Regions from separate parts of the Homo sapiens genome. Here regions 2, 3, 4 and 5 are each linked to region 1. The links are contacts of gene promoters, found by promoter capture Hi-C in human tissues and cell types (Jung and others, 2019). All regions are on one chromosome and are shown on one strand. The core of a region is centred on a gene start or on the middle of the fragment in contact, and the rest is flanking DNA. Distances in the headings are between cores, read along the strand shown. Region 1 holds the start of PARK7 (Parkinsonism associated deglycase). Region 2 overlaps CAMTA1 (calmodulin binding transcription activator 1). Region 3 holds the start of LINC01714 (long intergenic non-protein coding RNA 1714). Region 4 overlaps CAMTA1 (calmodulin binding transcription activator 1). Region 5 overlaps PER3 (period circadian regulator 3).

Evidence for each region. The method cuts DNA at HindIII sites, captures the fragments that hold promoters and counts their contacts. A contact is called where the count stands out against the background at its distance.
Region 2: a contact is called between a fragment that was not itself captured here and the fragment with the promoter of PARK7 in region 1, in 1 of the 25 tissues and cell types used here (IMR-90 fibroblasts).
Region 3: a contact is called between a fragment that was not itself captured here and the fragment with the promoter of PARK7 in region 1, in 1 of the 25 tissues and cell types used here (mesenchymal stem cells).
Region 4: a fragment that was not itself captured here is called in contact with the fragment with the promoter of PARK7 in region 1 in 1 of the 25 tissues and cell types used here (mesendoderm cells).
Region 5: a fragment that was not itself captured here is called in contact with the fragment with the promoter of PARK7 in region 1 in 1 of the 25 tissues and cell types used here (H1 embryonic stem cells).

Annotation. Positions count from the first base shown.
Region 1 is chr1:7,960,232-7,963,448 of GRCh38, forward strand. It overlaps PARK7 (Parkinsonism associated deglycase), which reads left to right and starts at 1,480. Exons shown (of 7, transcript NM_007262.5): 1 at 1,480-1,562; 2 at 2,532-2,644. The coding sequence starts at 2,555. RefSeq lists enhancers at 548-1,331, 1,031-1,130, 1,332-2,115, 1,511-1,560, 1,761-1,810 and 1 more and a silencer at 1,281-1,380. The HindIII fragment of the contact is 29,789 bases long and covers 1-3,217 here.
Region 2 is chr1:7,715,298-7,718,514 of GRCh38, forward strand. All of the region lies in intron 11 of CAMTA1 (calmodulin binding transcription activator 1), which reads left to right. Among named protein-coding and RNA genes, the nearest start is that of VAMP3, 54 kb to the right of the region's middle. The HindIII fragment of the contact is 7,429 bases long and covers 1-3,217 here.
Region 3 is chr1:8,207,330-8,210,546 of GRCh38, forward strand. It overlaps LINC01714 (long intergenic non-protein coding RNA 1714), which reads left to right and starts at 1,343. Exons shown (of 4, transcript NR_125998.1): 1 at 1,343-1,544; 2 at 3,158-3,217. The HindIII fragment of the contact is 4,333 bases long and covers 1-3,217 here.
Region 4 is chr1:7,748,436-7,751,652 of GRCh38, forward strand. It overlaps CAMTA1 (calmodulin binding transcription activator 1), which reads left to right. Exons shown (of 23, transcript NM_015215.4): 20 at 2,764-2,957. Among named protein-coding and RNA genes, the nearest start is that of VAMP3, 21 kb to the right of the region's middle. The HindIII fragment of the contact is 6,096 bases long and covers 1-3,217 here.
Region 5 is chr1:7,831,368-7,834,584 of GRCh38, forward strand. All of the region lies in intron 19 of PER3 (period circadian regulator 3), which reads left to right. Among named protein-coding and RNA genes, the nearest start is that of UTS2, 20 kb to the right of the region's middle. The HindIII fragment of the contact is 4,650 bases long and covers 1-3,217 here.

The DNA of each region.
Region 1 (3,217 bases), core at 230-2,729:
AATAATAAAATCCTATTTGCAACAACATTGATGGAACTGGAGGTCATTATGTTAAGTGAAACAAGCCAGGCAAAGAAAGACAAGCATCACATGATTTCACTCATAAATGGGAAGTTGAAAAGTGGATATCATGAAGATAAGTTGGTGGTTACCAGAGGCCAGGAAGGGTAGCCAGGAGAAGGGGATGAACAGGGTGATTAATAGGTACAAAAATTGGTAGAAGTGCTGGGCAAGGTGTCAAGAGCCCCAGCATCAGAAAGTGGTCGACTTGCTGGTTGGTAAGAAGAATTTATCGACAACAATATAGGTTTGAAAAAGGAAAGTTTTATTAGAACGCTGCAGAAGAGTGCAGCCTCAGCAAGAGAGAACTGAGCATGCCGCGGTGGATTTTTCATGTCCCTTTTCGAATGTCTCATTTTTTGCAAATTCAATCCAAGTTGCGTTCATTTAGCCAGGATCCTTCTAAGCTCATTCAAGAATTTTGGGCTTTAACTATTTCCTTTGATTTAACCTGGTACCAGGTGCCAACTTTAGATAATAGGGATATCTAATTACTTCTAAATTCCTCAGATAAGGGGCCTGCTTGATGGTCACCAGGTGATCTGTGCTCTCCTTAAGAGGGAATAAGACCTAGCGTTGGCAGAGTTCTGTAGGGTGACTATAGTTAACAGTAATCTGTTGTATATTTTAAAATGTTATTATTGAAGAGAGTAACTGGAATGTTCCCAGTATAAAGACAAATGTTTAAGGTGATAGAGATCTCATTTACCCTGATTTAATCATTACACATTATATGAAAGTATCAAAATACCACATGTACCCAGAAAACACATACGTCTCTTACATATCAATAAATACAACTTGAGATTATGATGTAAATACATCTGACCAACTTGGTACTTATTAGACTTATGTGCGCAGCACTGCTCTAGTCCTGTGGGTGCAGCAGCATCAGGATCGTTAAAGAAAACAAACAATGCTGAGAAAAAAACTCACACCCCTGAGACATCCGGGTGTGAATAAATGCGGCAGAGTCGCCCGAGATCGGGAGACCAGGCGTGGGGGAGAGGTCCGGGAGGCCTGGACCAGAGTCCTAACAGACCAGAGGCGAAACGGGAAGGCGCGCCAGAAAAGGAACAACGCAAAGGGAGCAGGCGTGCACGGAGCGCGAACTAAGGAACCCCTCTGACAACCCCAGTCCCTCGGCAGTTCCAGAGACCGGCTCCTCACGGAGGGTGGCGGTAGAGACTGTTAAGCCCCGCGGGCGCCGGGGCAGGCCGGACTGTGCCATTCGTGGGGGGTACCATGTGGGACCGAGCCGCCTCACCCAGGGCTGTCCAGCTAGAAACTCCCCGGTGCCACCCCCGCCTCAGTCCGAGGTAGACTCGGCCGGACGTGACGCAGCGTGAGGCCAAGGCGGCGTGAGTCTGCGCAGTGTGGGGCTGAGGGAGGCCGGACGGCGCGCGTGCGTGCTGGCGTGCGTTCATTTTCAGCCTGGTGTGGGGTGAGTGGTACCCAACGGGCCGGGGCGCCGCGTCCGCAGGAAGAGGCGCGGGGTGCAGGTCAGCGCCAGCGGGGGCGCGGCGCATGTGTGGGCCGTGGCGCTGGGCGGCGTGGGGGTGCTGGACGGTGTCCCTGTGCTGGACGGTGTCCCGCTGGCTCAGAACCGGCGCGGGGCCTGGGTCGGGGCCGCCCTCGCTTCCGGCCTCCCAGTCGGGCCCTGTCGCTGGCGTTGGATTTGACTGACCGCCAGCGTGGTGGCAACGCTGAAGCGTCCAGAATCTTCTGCCTAACCTCTCGCCGGCATGGAACTGGCTAGCCGTTTTATTAAACTCTGTTTTGCGTGGACGGTAAACCCTCCAGATAATCTGTAAATAGGCTAAAAAAAATTCGGAACCTCGTTGAGCTGCTGTCGTTGGCAGTGAGAACTCCGCGCAGAGAGACAGATGTAGTTGGGTTGACTTCAGTGAGGGGATTTCCATCTTTCTCAGTCATTAAAAAAAGTGTTCAGACATTTAACACTGTTGACCCCCACACACAATTTTTTAGTACAGTTATAACTAAGAAAACAAAAATCCCCTCCAAAAAATTACAAGTTAATTGCGAAAGACCACATTTAAATTTTTGCCCATGAAATTCAGTTTAGTCGTTTCTCTGAAACAGTGCTTCAAAAAAGACTGTTTCCCCGCATTGTGTGAAATGCAGGAGACCCACGTACTTGTATTTTTAAAAAACCCATTTGCAACATACTATTAAAGTTGGATTTAAGAGAACATGGTAGAAGAAAATCTAAGCAATACTACACCTTTTAGCACCCTCATTATGTTTTCATCTCAGAGCAATTAAAACTGCTATACAAATCAACGTTAAGATAACTAAACTGCTGCTTTTTTCGTATTCAGTTGTCTATGAAAACCGTTTCCCTAGGAAGTACTTACTCTGCTTGAAAATGCTCCTAAACTTTAAATTTTGGGGTATCTCAGGGTTGCAATGAAAGTTTTTTGAAATCTTTTTTTTTTTTTTTTTTTAAGGCTTGTAAACATATAACATAAAAATGGCTTCCAAAAGAGCTCTGGTCATCCTGGCTAAAGGAGCAGAGGAAATGGAGACGGTCATCCCTGTAGATGTCATGAGGCGAGCTGGGGTAAGTCCCACATCGATTTTTAGCCATTCCTGTTTTAAATGTTTTTGGATTTTTAAATCATTTTGAATAAAATATTCAAAGTGCTCTATGAAATATTTCAAATATACACAAAATTTCAGAGATGACATAAGAATAAATACCTGTTGATCCACTGCTCACATTTAACGCTTGTTAATGTCTTGCCATATTTCCTTCAGACCCATTTCTCTTTTGTTTTGAGCTCTGTCGTCCAGGCTGGAGTGCGATGGCAGGATCTTGGCTCATTTCGGTCTCTGCCTCCTGGGCCCAAACCATCTTCCCACCTCAGCCTCCCAAATAGCTGAGACTACAGATGCGTGCCACCACACCTGGCTAATTTTTGTATGTTTTGTAGAGACAGGGTTTTGCCATGTTGCCCAGGCTGCTCTCCAACTCCTGAGCTCAAGTTGTCCACCCGCCTCAGGCCTCCCAAAGTGTTAGGACTACAGGCGTGAGCCACTGCACTGTCCTTAGACCCATTTCTTTTTTCTTCTTTTTTTTTTTTTTTGAGATGGTGTCTCTCTGTGTCGCTCAGCCTGGAACGCAGTGGTGTGA
Region 2 (3,217 bases), core at 224-2,723, 240 kb before region 1:
ACCGGAGTTGGCTATTAACGTTTTGTTCCATTATTTAACCATTCCGTCAACCACTTGGGGGGGTTCTGTAAGGATCTGCAGATTGCATAGCCCCTGAAACTGGATGAAGTCAAGCTGCATCCCATAGCCACACACTTTTTTTTTTTTTTTCTTGAGGCACGGTCTCTCTCTCTGAGCCAGACTGGAATGCAGTGGCACAGTCATGGCTCACTGCAGCCTTGAACTCCTGGGCTCAAGTGATCCTCCCACCTCAGCCTCCCAAAGCGCTGGGATTACAGGTGTAGCCACTGTGCCAGCCACATCCCCCTTTCACAGAAAGCACCCTTAAGTGTTTTGCTTTTTTACGTAATCCAAGGGATGCTTTAATGCTGGCCTCAGTAATTCATACATTTGTTCAGGCCTCACTGATTTGAAATTTGCAAAAATCGGAGGATGACTCTGGTCTAGGGGTAGGGTGCCAAGGGATACTCAGAGGAACTGAGTGCCGTGCCGGCATGGGAGAGCAGTCCTTGATGTATTCTGATGTGGCATAAGGAGCCGAGACATGAAAGAATCCTCACAAGCATCCTGACACTACTCGGAAGAAGCTTAATGACTAAAAATTTTCTGAAACCCTGTACTTCCCTTGGGGAAATAGTTTATTTCTGAATAAAATATTTATGTGGTATATTGACTTTTTAAAAATATCATCTATTTATCAGAAGGGTCTATGATGAATTATAAAATTGTTTTGCTTTGTTTTATTTTGTTTTTGAAACAGGGTCTCACTCTGTTGCCCGGGCTGGAGTGCAGCAGCATGATTGAAGCTCACTGTGGCCTCCACCTTCTGGGCTCACGTGATCCCCCCATCTCAGCCTCCAGAGTAGCTGGGACTACAGGCTCATGCCACCGTGCCCAGCTAATTTTTTTATGTTTTGTTGAGATAGGGTCTTACTATGTGGCCCAGGCTGGTCTCCAACTCCTGAGTTCAAGTGATCCTCCTGCCTCAGCCTCAAAGTGCTGGGATTACAGGCATGAGACACTGTGCCCAGCTAATATTCTTAAGTCATTTTATCCATTAGGACCTATTTTATTAGCCCCTAATAATAAAGATAAAATATTGGACAGATATTTTATCCAGAATCCAGCTATTTATTTTAAAATATGTACATTTCATTCTACTAAGTTGGGAAGGACTTATTTACCTATATGTTTTCCAGATTTTGTAGCACTATGAAAAACATTATAATTAATAAACTTGTGAGTTCTGGAACAGAAGTCTCTCATGTAGAATCCAGTATTCAGAAAAATACATATTTTTGGAACGTCTTGGGCTTTAACTCTCACAAGTTAGCAAGACAGTTAGCACCGTCTGTGCAGATGGTCCCCCTAGAGTTAGTTCTGAGAGCCAAGCCTTGCCAATAGCAGTCCTAAATAATGTATGGAGAATGAGCTTGGCACAACTAATGAGGATCCAGCAATCCCACCACTGCGTCTGTAGCCAAAGGAAATGAAATTAGGATGTCAGAGAGAGATCTGCACTCCTGTGTTTATTGCAACACTGTTCACAATAACCAGGATACGGTAGCACCCTGAGTGTCCATCTGTGGATGAATGTGTAAGGAAAATGTGGTCTGTGTCTACAGTGGAGTACTATTCAGCCATAAAACAGAATGAAATCCTGCCATTGCCAACATCAGAGCTGAATATGGACAGCATTCTGTGAAGTGAAGTAAGCCAGGCACAGAAAGACAAATGCCACATGATCTCACTCCTAGGCAGAGTCTTAAAAAGTTGATCTCATGGCAGTGGACAATAGAATAGTCATTACCAGAGGCTGGGAATGGGGACGTCGGGGAGATGTTTGTCAGAGAATGTGTATTTACAGTTAGACAGGAGGAATCAGTTCAAGGGGTTATTGTACAGCCTGGTGACTCGAGTTCATCATGATATATTCCTGAACATTGCTAAGAGGGTAGATGTTAAATGCCCTCACCACAAAAATGATAGCTGTGTCATTATTTAATGAACAAATGTACTCCAAAGTACATTTGTACATAGTGCATTACTATGTAGTACATTTGTTAATTAGCTAGATTTAATCTTTCCACAACGTTCATGTACTTCAAAACATCAGGTTGTATGCAATAAATACGTACAATTTATGTCCATGTCAAAAAAATTTGAGGCCAGGCGTAGTGGCTCACACCTGTAATCTCAGCACTTTGGGAGGCTGAGGCAAGAGGATCACTTGAGCCCAGGAGTTTGAGATTAGCCTGGGCAACATAGTGAAACCCTACCTCTACCAAAAATACAAAAAATTAGCCAGGCGTGGTGGTGCATGCCTGTGGTCCCAGCTACTTAGGAGGCTAAGGCAGGAGGTAGAGGCTGTGGTGAGTCATGTTTGCACCACTGCACTCCAGCCTGAGCAACAAAGCGAGACCCTGTCTAAAAAAAAATAAAAAAATAAAAACGGATATATTCTTATTAGCTAAAAGGTGACCATGAAGGAGCTGCTTTTAATAACTTGGCTGAAAAAAAGCCCATCATAGAAATGACTCATGGAAACAAATATTTGTTCTACATGTTATTCTGTACCTTGTTCTTCTTGAAGTTCACGTTGTGTATTTCCGATAGTTGAAATTAAATCATTTCGTCAATAAATATTTACAGAGGGCCTACTGTGCACCAGGAATTTCTGCTAGGCCTCAGGAATGTAGCGGTGACTGGGATGAACGTAGTCACTGGCCTCACTGAGCCAACACAATTTCTCTTTACGTTCATGTATATGAGACCGAGTTTCTGGTGACAAAGGCTCATATCGTGTTGGGTTTTTGTAGTCCCGGTGGCTAACAACTTGAGTTGTCTTGTTCACCCTTAGTTCCCTAGAGCCTTGGCGCAGTCTTAGCCAGCAGTGGGCGTTCCGTAAACACAGTGGGCGTTCCGTAAACACAGTGGGTGTTCCGTAAACACAGTGGGCGTTCCGTAAACATTTGTGGAATGAGTCCGTTCTGGCCGGATTCTCCATAGTTCTTCCCCAAGGATTTCAAGTGGTGTTTTGATCATGCTAGGCGCCACCAAACAAGCCGCTGGTGCTTAATTATTGTATCCATACCTCCTGACAATTCCTGCTCACTTTGTCGTTTCTGTCTTTGCAGTTTCCCTTCTTAAGTGTTAGGATTTTCATTTTCCATTTTCCTTTATATAACCCATTTAAATCACGCCTTCATGTCCAGGT
Region 3 (3,217 bases), core at 529-3,028, 250 kb after region 1:
GCTACTCAAGAGGCTGAGACAGGAGAATCACTTGAACCTGGAATGTGGAGGCTGCAGTGAGCCGAGATTGTGCTGCTGCATTCCAGCCTGGGCGACAAGAGCCAGACTCCATCTCAAAAAAAAAGAGCCAGTGTGCGTGAACCTCGTGCAGCTGTCAGCATGAGGTGGGCTCTGCGTCAACACAATGTTAGCTAATGCAGGACGCCATGATGAATTACATCTCATGTTTTCCATTTATCCCCCAATGATAGCAGTTTTTGTTTTTTTGTTTTTTGTTGTTTGTTGTTTTTGAGATGGAATTTCACTCTTGTCACTCAGGCTGGAGTGCAGTAGCACGATCTCTGCTCACTGCAACTGCCGCCTCCCGGATTCAAGCGATTCTCCTGCCTCAGCCTCCCAAGGAGCTGGGATTACAGGCACCCACCACCATGCCCGGCTAATTTTTGTATTTTTAGTAGAGACGGGGTTTCACCATGTTGGCCAGGCTGGTCTTGAACTCCTGACCTCAGGTGATTCACCCGCCTCAGCCTCCCAAAGTGCTGGGATTACAGGCGTGAGCCACCGCGGCTGGTCGACAATAGCAGTTTTAAAAGAGAACAAAAATTATGGCCCATTGTCACAGTGAGGGTTTTGATAGGATTTATTAGTTATAAATATTTTTGATTTGTACATCAGCTTCTTTATTCTACCCTCCCAAAGGCAGAAGGAATATTTATTAACCTCCCCTCTCATTGTCCACCAAGCCTAGGATCTGAGATGCTATGAAATTTCTCCTACAATAAATCTGGGTTATAGGATGCACCTCAAAACATAGGAACCTTTGCATCGTTTTCCACTGCCACTAATTCTAAAATTTTCTCTTTTTTTTGAGATAGGGTCTTACTCTGTCGCCCAGGCTGCAGTGTAGTGGCACAATCACTACTCACCGTGGCCTCAACCTCCCGGGCTCAAGCAATGCTCCCACCTCAGCCTCCTGCGTAGCTGGGACTACAAGCACACACCATCATGCCTGGCTTATTTTTATTTTTTGTAGAGAGGGAGTCCCGCTGTGTTGCCCAGGCTGGTCTTGAACTCCTGGCCTCAAGCGATCCTCCCACTTCGGCCTCTCAAAGTGTTGGGATTCTAGGTGTGAGTCACCACCCCGGCCCTAGAAATTTTCATTGTCAGATGAACATCATTTCCCTAGGCTGGTGTTGGGAAGCTGGGGGATCCTGTGTTCTCTCCAGCACTGGGTTTTCCCAAGCAGAAAATGAGCCTTATCGTGTACTCGGAATCGTCAGATATTCGTAGAGCCAGAAAACATCTTGAAAATCATGTTATCTCTTTGCTTTTTGCAGATGAGGATGTCAAGACTTGGAGTAGGTGACAGTTGGCCTTGGGCTTCGGTGGCCAACCCATGACTACAAAAGCCCGAGAAGCCAGCAGCTTCCCCGGCTCCTCCACCAAGTGGCCTCTGGGTGATGGGGAAGCTTGTCCTCTGCTTTGTCACACACAAAACTCTAAAAGTCAGCATCCCAACGCATCGGCCTGGAGAGCCCGTCCAGGTGAGAGACACACACTGGAGGATGTGTTGGGGCCAGAGGCAGAGCCAGCGATGTCACTGCCAGGTCCCGTGCAACACGACAACACGGGACTCCTGGTTCCAAAAGCAGGAGAAAAGCTTTTTCCTTTCCTCCCTTCACCTGTCACAGTGGTTTTTATTTGTGATTGAATGGTGTGCTCCCTGGGACGGGGGGTTCTCAAAGACATCTCTGGGAGTCTCACAGACTCAGGTGCCCAGGGGCAGGGTGCTTGAGTCCCAACCCTGAAACCCTAACTGTCCTTGATCCCCACAGTCCGTGCCCTCCTGCCAGCAGATCCTTTGTCCCACTGGATTTCATTTACAAACCACAAAGTCAGAAAGAAAAGTATTAAGAAATCCAAGAGGGGCCGAGCGCGTGGCTCACACCTGTAACTCCAGCACTTTGGGAGGCCGAGGTGGGCGAATCACATGAGGTCAGGAGTTCGAGACCAGACTAGCCAACATGGTGAAATCCCTTCTCTACTAAAATACAGGAATTAGCCGGGCATGGTGGCACACACCTGTGATCCCAGCTATTCAGTAGGCTGAGGCAGGAGAATCGCTTGAACCCAGGAGGCGGAGGTTGCAGTGAGCCGAGATCGAGCCACTGCCCTCCAGCCTGGGTGACAGAGCAACACTCCGTCTCAAAAAAAAGAAGTCCAAGAGGGCAATTGCAGAGAATTAAACCCCCTGGGCGGGCCCATCTGAGGGCAAGGGTCTGAGCTTCCACATTGGCCATAGGCCGGGGAAGCCTGGCCAGAGGTGAGCAGCCGCTTGGATGTCTGCGATGGCTCCAGAGGTAACAGAGACTCGAAGACCAGGGAGAATGCAAGCTTCAGGGCTGGGCACAGTGGCCCACACCTGTAATTCTAACACTTTGGGAGGCCAAGGTGGGCAGTTCCCTTGAGCCCAGGAGTTGGCAACCAGCTTGAGCAACATGGTGAATCCCTGTCTCTACCAGAAAGAAACAGAAAAAAGGAAAGAAAAGAAAGAAGAAAGAAAAAAAGAATGCAAGCTTCATGTTTGGCTGTAGCCTCCGCTGAGGGAGCCTCTCCAGTCCCGACTGCCGCGTGCCCTGGGTGGCGGAGGAATTTGGGGGTGGACCTATCTCAGTTGTATCTGGAAGAATTCTCAGGTTAGAGGGTGAAAAATATCTTTTTTATCCTTTCTCTTTTTATTTTTATTTTTATTTGAGCTAAGGTCTTCACCTAGGTCTGTCACCCAGGCTGGAGTGCAGTGGTGACATCACGGCTCAATGCAGCCTTGACCTCCTGGGCTCAGGTGGTCCCCCCACCTCAGCCTCCTCGGTAGCTGGGACTACAGGTGCACACCACCACACTCAGCTAATTTTTATATTTTTTGTAGAGATGGGGTTTCACTTTATTGCTCAGATTGGTCTCGAACCCCCCAGGCTCAGCAATCTGCCCGCCTCCGCCTCCCAAAGGGCTGAGATTACAAGTGTGAGCCACCGTGCCCGACCAATGTCATTTCTTAACGTTGATTTCCCCCTTAAGATGGGCACTGTGCCGAGAGATGTGGGAAAGAGTCTGCAAGCAGCCCCTTCCCCCGTCATCTGAATCTTTCATTTGTAAATAGGAGGATTTATGTGGAATCTGGCTTTTCTGATAGCATCGACGTTCCTTCCCGTGCCTTCTG
Region 4 (3,217 bases), core at 530-3,029, 210 kb before region 1:
TACCGCAAAAGGGTTTTTGTCCAAATTTTTGATCTTTTAGTAATATTACCTACCTGAGATACTGGTCTGATCCTAACACCAGTATCTTTGCAGTGAGGATCCGTGGTCCAATACTTTGATAAACTCCCTAGTAATTAGAGAACTGTAGGGAATCCAGGGTGTGATACCGTGATTGGAGAAAGTAAATGCTGGCTATTTATTACCTTTGAGTTTGAATTATATAAGGTATTTAATCTTTGGCCATTTTCCTTTCAGCTTCTTATCCATTTTAAAATGAAGAATTGTTAAAATCTTTGAAAATCAGAAGAAGCTCAGAACATCTTAAACTGCTTTTGTGCACCTTAGTTAAAGGTGCAAGAAGATTATCTAAGTACTCTTTCATGCAGTATTTCTGTTTGCAAACCACCTTGTAGGGTTATGTAACTAGTCAGATGGGAAAGGGAAGTCATATTTTTGGGGCAGCTAGTATGCACTAGATTTTTTAGGTGCCCCATCTCATTTCCTTTTTACAATTATTTGAAGTAAGCAGTATTTATTTCCAGTTTACAGATGAAGAAGCTGAAGCTCAGAGAAATTACATGAATATTAGGCCTTTCTCATTATCAAGGTGGTTATAAAATATTAAAAATTGCCTAATGGAGTTTTGACTGGTTCACACGATAAAATTCAGGCCTGTCAGTAGATTCGAGAACCTTTTATCAGATTGTGCTTTAGGTAGTTATAAATTTTTATTTAAGGAATAATAAATTCTAATATGTGTAATGGTCACATAGAAATTAGGGATTCTATCACCTTGTCATAATCCAGGACTTGCCTCAATTTCTGATATGGGTTGCCGTTTCCTCAAGCTTCTCTAGGATTAAGCCCTATTAATGGGGGTGGGGGGACGTCTTTGGCTTCGAGCCAGTTGAGTTCATGATCCCAGAAAAGGAAGGTTTATTGTGCAAACGCTGACACCACAGTGCCTGTAGCTCTATAGCAGGGAGCCGCACTGGCTTCTGTTTGGTGAGCAGGCTTCCTGGGAGCACAAGTGATACACAGAATGAAGGTTTCAAGTCTGTGATTACAACAGGTATTGATTCCAAAATATGAGTTTGGTTTTTTAAAAAAAAAAACCCTCCCCAGAAACTGTCATCTACAGCTAGGAAGACAGAAGGCATTATTTTTGGAAAGAGTAACAACTATAAAACAAATATTTTGGAAGATGGAAGGCATTAATATAGCCAGGTTGCCTTTTTTTTTTTTCTTGGTTGGGAGTTTTATTGATTCTGGTTTTTAATTTCATTATATTCAGCAATGTAACATTAATCTTGTATTTTCTGTTTTTCCCCCAAGCTGACATGGATAGCCTTGAAGGTAATGATACACCCAAGCCCTCTCACAAACCATTCCACCAGAGTCACAAACTTCACACCCATCACCAGCTACAGGGAGGGCCATTAAGATGGCACAGTCATGGAGTAAACATATCCCCCTTGCCAGGCCACCTAAGCACAGTTCCTCTGTCGTCTGGGGACCACGTGGTTATTCAGCTGGAGTGGGTTTCGACATTAATAACTGGACATTTTTTGGCTGGTGTTAATCCATCTAAGCCAGTTCCTGTGAGCCCTGTGGCCACTAAGTAAATACCCTTTTTCCCAAAGCGCTTCACTGTGGCCCGATGGGTCTGAGTGTGTAGTGTGCACAGGTGGAGACGATGGAAACCACAGGGGCTCTGTAGTCTGCAGCATTCTTGTCTTCAAAGACTTTCAGACCAGTGAAAAGGTAAAGCAGGTCAGATAAGACCAAAGAAGGTTCTTGCAGAAGGGTCCTGGTTCTTGGACAATTCTGAGAAGTCAGTTTCCCTCCCTCATTTCACCTCCTCATACATCCAGAGATACAGTTAGGCAGATACAGGGATTTTCTGGGGAATATTTTTCCTTGCGACGGTAAGTTGCCGTCTTATAAGCAAAGGGCTTCATTGCAACTTCTCATCCCCAGAGTCATACTCTGTTTGATTAGAAATTTGGACGTAGCATTTTAAGACCATGGAGAGCTCTGTATTTTTAGTGCCTAGAGACTGATGTTGAGAATTCACCCTGGGCCTTCGTCCCTCACTTCTGTAGCTCTGCAGCGGGCTGCGTGGAGGACTCCTGGCACTGCCTCCTGGGTCGTCCGCAGCTCTGTGACAGCCGTCCAGGTTTCACGGCTTCACCACCGTGTTGGTCTTACGAGTGTTCATCTTTTACAGGTTAAAATGGCTTAAAGGTGTCAGCGTTTCATGATAAGCCTTGTATTTGGGACCTTGCAACTCAGTCAGAAACTTGTCGTGTGGAATGATAGTTAAAAATCAGAGGCTGAATGCTAAGTAGATTTGTGTATGGTGGGAATTGGAAGGCATAAAAAAATTATGTTAGTGTTTCAAAACTGGATAGAAAATATTAATCCGAAGCATTTAAAATTTTACTGTCGAAATCTGTTTTTAGATTCATAAACGTCTAAGGGTATTGCTATTAAAATTTTTCTCCAAGAAGGGCAAGATATTTTGATATTTTAGGGAAAAAATATATGTCTGAAGGCAACCCTTAAAGTAATATTTTACATTTTGGAAAGGTAGGTGTAAAGATTCCTCATTTGCCTCTTTTGTGATTAAACCCCGGACAGAGAATGTGATAATAGAGGGGAAAAGCATTTTCTCTTCTTCCCTTCCCGGTAAGCTCGAAGGACGCTGAGCCCGTGCAGCCCCTGTTGTTACTGTGTCGCTTGTTCTTGTTTCCCCTGCAGTACGCACTTTATAAAAAGATGACACAGGCTGCCATCCTTATCCAGAGCAAATTCCGAAGTTACTATGAACAAAAAAAATTCCAGCAGAGCCGACGGGCTGCTGTGCTCATCCAAAAGTACTACCGAAGTTATAAGAAATGTGGCAAAAGACGGCAGGCTCGCCGGACGGCTGTGATTGTACAACAGAAACTCAGGTGGGTGGAGAAGAGCTCATGGAGGTAAAGCTCCCTAGGGAAGAGAACTCTGACTTCTTTGAAAGACTTGTCCTGGGCTGACATTGGAGTCTGGGGTGGGCCTAAAGCATTGGCAGTCACTGTGTTCCAGAACGTTTTAGGCATGGTGGCTGATAAGTACACCTGTGCTGAGTCTGGTTTTGAATATTTAGCTCTTTCTCTCCACCTCCCACCCAATTATTTTGATATTGCCACCCAATTTTACCTTATATCAGAATTTG
Region 5 (3,217 bases), core at 260-2,759, 130 kb before region 1:
ACTTTTCTACATAGTCTTTATTATCTGCAAATATAATTTTACTTCTTTTTTTCCGTCTGTATGTCTTTATTTATTTGTCTTGCCTCATTGAACTGGCTAGGACCCACAGTGAAGTGTTTAATAGAAATAGGAAAATAGACACTTGCCTGGTTCACAGTCTTAAGGGGAAAGCAGTCAGTGTTTCACCATTAAGTACGATGTTAAGTATAAGTTTTCCTTGAATGCCCTTATCAGATTGAGGAAGTTCACTTCTATTGCTGCTCCACTGAGTTGCCCTTTCTGCGTCTGTTGAGATAATCATGTGGTTTTCCTCCCTTATTCTATTAATATGGTGAATTACATCAGTTTTCTGATAATAAATTAACCTTGCATTTGGTCATGCTCTTTTATCCTTTTTTATATGTTGTTGGATTATCTTCCTAATATTTTGTTACGCATTATTGCATCTCTGTGCAGAATATTGGTCCATTTACTTTCTTTACTTGTAATGTCTTTGTCTGGTTTTGGTATCAGAGTAATTCTGGCCTCAAAAAATGAGCTAGGAACTATTCTTTGCTATTCTGTTTTCTGGAAGAGTTTGTGTTGAACTGATATTATTTTTTCTTTGTAAGTTTGGTAGACTTTACCAGTGAATCTTTCTGGGCCTGGAGTTTTCTTGGTGAGGAGGATTTTAACAACAAATTTAAATATTTTAATATATATGGGTCTAATCAGGTTATCAGTTTCTTAGTGATCTTTGGTAATTTGTATCTTTCAAGAAATGTATCTATTTTATCTAATTTGTTGAATATATTGGCATAAAGTTTTTAATATTCCCTTTTCCTTTTAATGTCTGTAGGTTTTATAGTAATGTACCCCTCTTATTGCTGGTATTAATATTTTTCCTGATCAATCTGACTGTATGTTTATCAATTTTAATAACTTTTCAAAGAACTTTGGATCTCATTGGGGTTTTTTTTCCTATTGTTTTTTGGTTTTTTATTTTATTGATTTATGCTCTTTTTTTTTTTTTTTTTTTTTCCCTGGGACAGAGTCTGGCACTGTCACCTGGGCTGGAGTGCAGTGGCACGATATTGGCTTACTGCAACCTCCACCTCCCAGGATCAAGCGATTCTCCTGCCTTAGCCTCCCGAGTAGCTGGGATTACGGGTGCCCGCCACCACACCCAGTTGATTTTTTGTATTTTTAGTAGAGACGGGGTTTCACCATGTTGGCCAGGCTGGTCTTGAACTCCTGATCTCATGATTCGCCCGCCTTGGCCTTCCAAATTGCTGGGATTACAAGCATCATCCACCGTGTCCAGCCTATGCTCTAATTTTTATTACTTCTTTTCTCTTTACTTTGGATTTTATTTTTTTTTTCTTATTTCTTAAGGTAGAAGCTTACTTGTTAGATCTTTGAATTGAGATTTTTCCCCCCCAATATAAACATTTAATGCTATTGAATGCTCTAACCATTGCATCCCTCAAATTTTTTTTTTTTTTTTTTGGAACCAAGGTCTCACTCTGTTGCCCAGGCTGGAGTGCAGTGGCATGATCCCAGCTCACTGCACCCTCAAACTTCTGGGTTCAACAATCCTCTGGCCTCAGCTTCCTGAGTAGCTGGAACTGCAGGCATATGCCAGTGTACCTGGCCAGTCTAAAATATTTCTAATTTCACTTGTATTTTCTTCTTTGATCTTTTGGTTGTTTTAGAAAGGCTTAATTTCCTAATATTTGGAGATTTTTTTTAGATATTTTTATTTTATTTCTAATTTAAATGCAGTCAGAGAACATTCTTTTGTATTTTTTAAATTTACCAAGACATTGTGTAATGATCTGGAATTTGGTCCATCATGATAAATGTTTCATGTGCATTTGAAAAGAATATGCTTTCTGCTGTTGTTGAGTCATGTGTTCTGTAAATGTAAATTAGATCAAGTTGGTTGATAATGTTGATCCAACCTTTTCTAACTGATTTTCTATCTGTTTTATAAGTTATTATGATATGGTTTATATGTCCAGCTATAAATGTGAATTTCTCTATTTTTTCTTATAGTGCAGTGAGTTTTTGCTTCATGTATTTTGAAGCTCTTTTATTAGGTGCATATACACTTGAGATTATTATATCCTCTTGATGAATTGCTCTCTTTATCCTGAAATATGTCTTGCTTTGAAGTCTGCTTTGTCTGATATCAGTGTATCCAGTCCAGCTTTATTTGGTTAGTGTTTACATGGTAAATTTTTTTCATCTTTTTACTTTCAACTTATCTGTGTCTTTATATTTAAAGTAAGTTTCTCGTAACCACCATATAGTTGGGTATTGCTTTTTATTCATGTGACAGTCTCAGCCTTTTAACTGCAATGCTTGCTTAGATTATTTACATTTAATGTGAATATTGATATGGTTAGGTTTAAGTTAAATCTTTCATCTTGCTACTAATTTTCTGTTTGTCTCATCTGCCCTTTCTTTTTTTCCTCCTACCCTCCTCCTTTCGGGTTAATTGTGTATTGGCTTCTAAGCATAACTTTTTTTTTGTTTTTGCTCTAGGATTAACTTTTTATTTATTTTTATTTTATCTTATTTTTTTCTTTGAGACTGAGTCTCACTCTGTCACCCAGGCTGGAGTGCAGTGGTGCCATCTTGGCTCACTGCACCCTCCACCTCCTAGGTTCAAGCAATTCTCCTGCCTCTACCTCCCAAGTAGCTGGTACTACAGGCGTGCACCACCACGCCTAATTTTTTGTATTTTTAGTATAGACGGAGTTTCACCATGTCAGCCAGACTGAACTCAAACTCCTGACCTCAGGCGATCCGCCCGCCTTGGCCTCCCAAAGTGCTGGCATTACAGGTGTGAGCCACCACGCCCAGCCTGCTCTAGGTTGTACAATGCACATCTTTTACTTATCACAGTTTACCTTCAAATATTATGCCTATTGTATCACTTTATATATTAGAACCTTAAGACGGAGTACTTCCATGTCCCCTTTGTCTTTTGTGCTATTTTTGTCATACATTTTAACGTGTAAAAAAACCCACAATAACATTGTTATTATTTTTGCTTTAAACAGTAACAACCTCTTAAAGTTGTTTTGTGTGAGTGTTTTGTTGTTGTTGTTGTTGTTTTGACACAAGGTGTCACTCTGTTACCCAGGCTAGAGTGCACTGATGCAATCATAGCTCACTGTAGCCTCAAACTCCTGGGCTCAAGCAATCCTCCAACCTTAGCCTCCTGAGT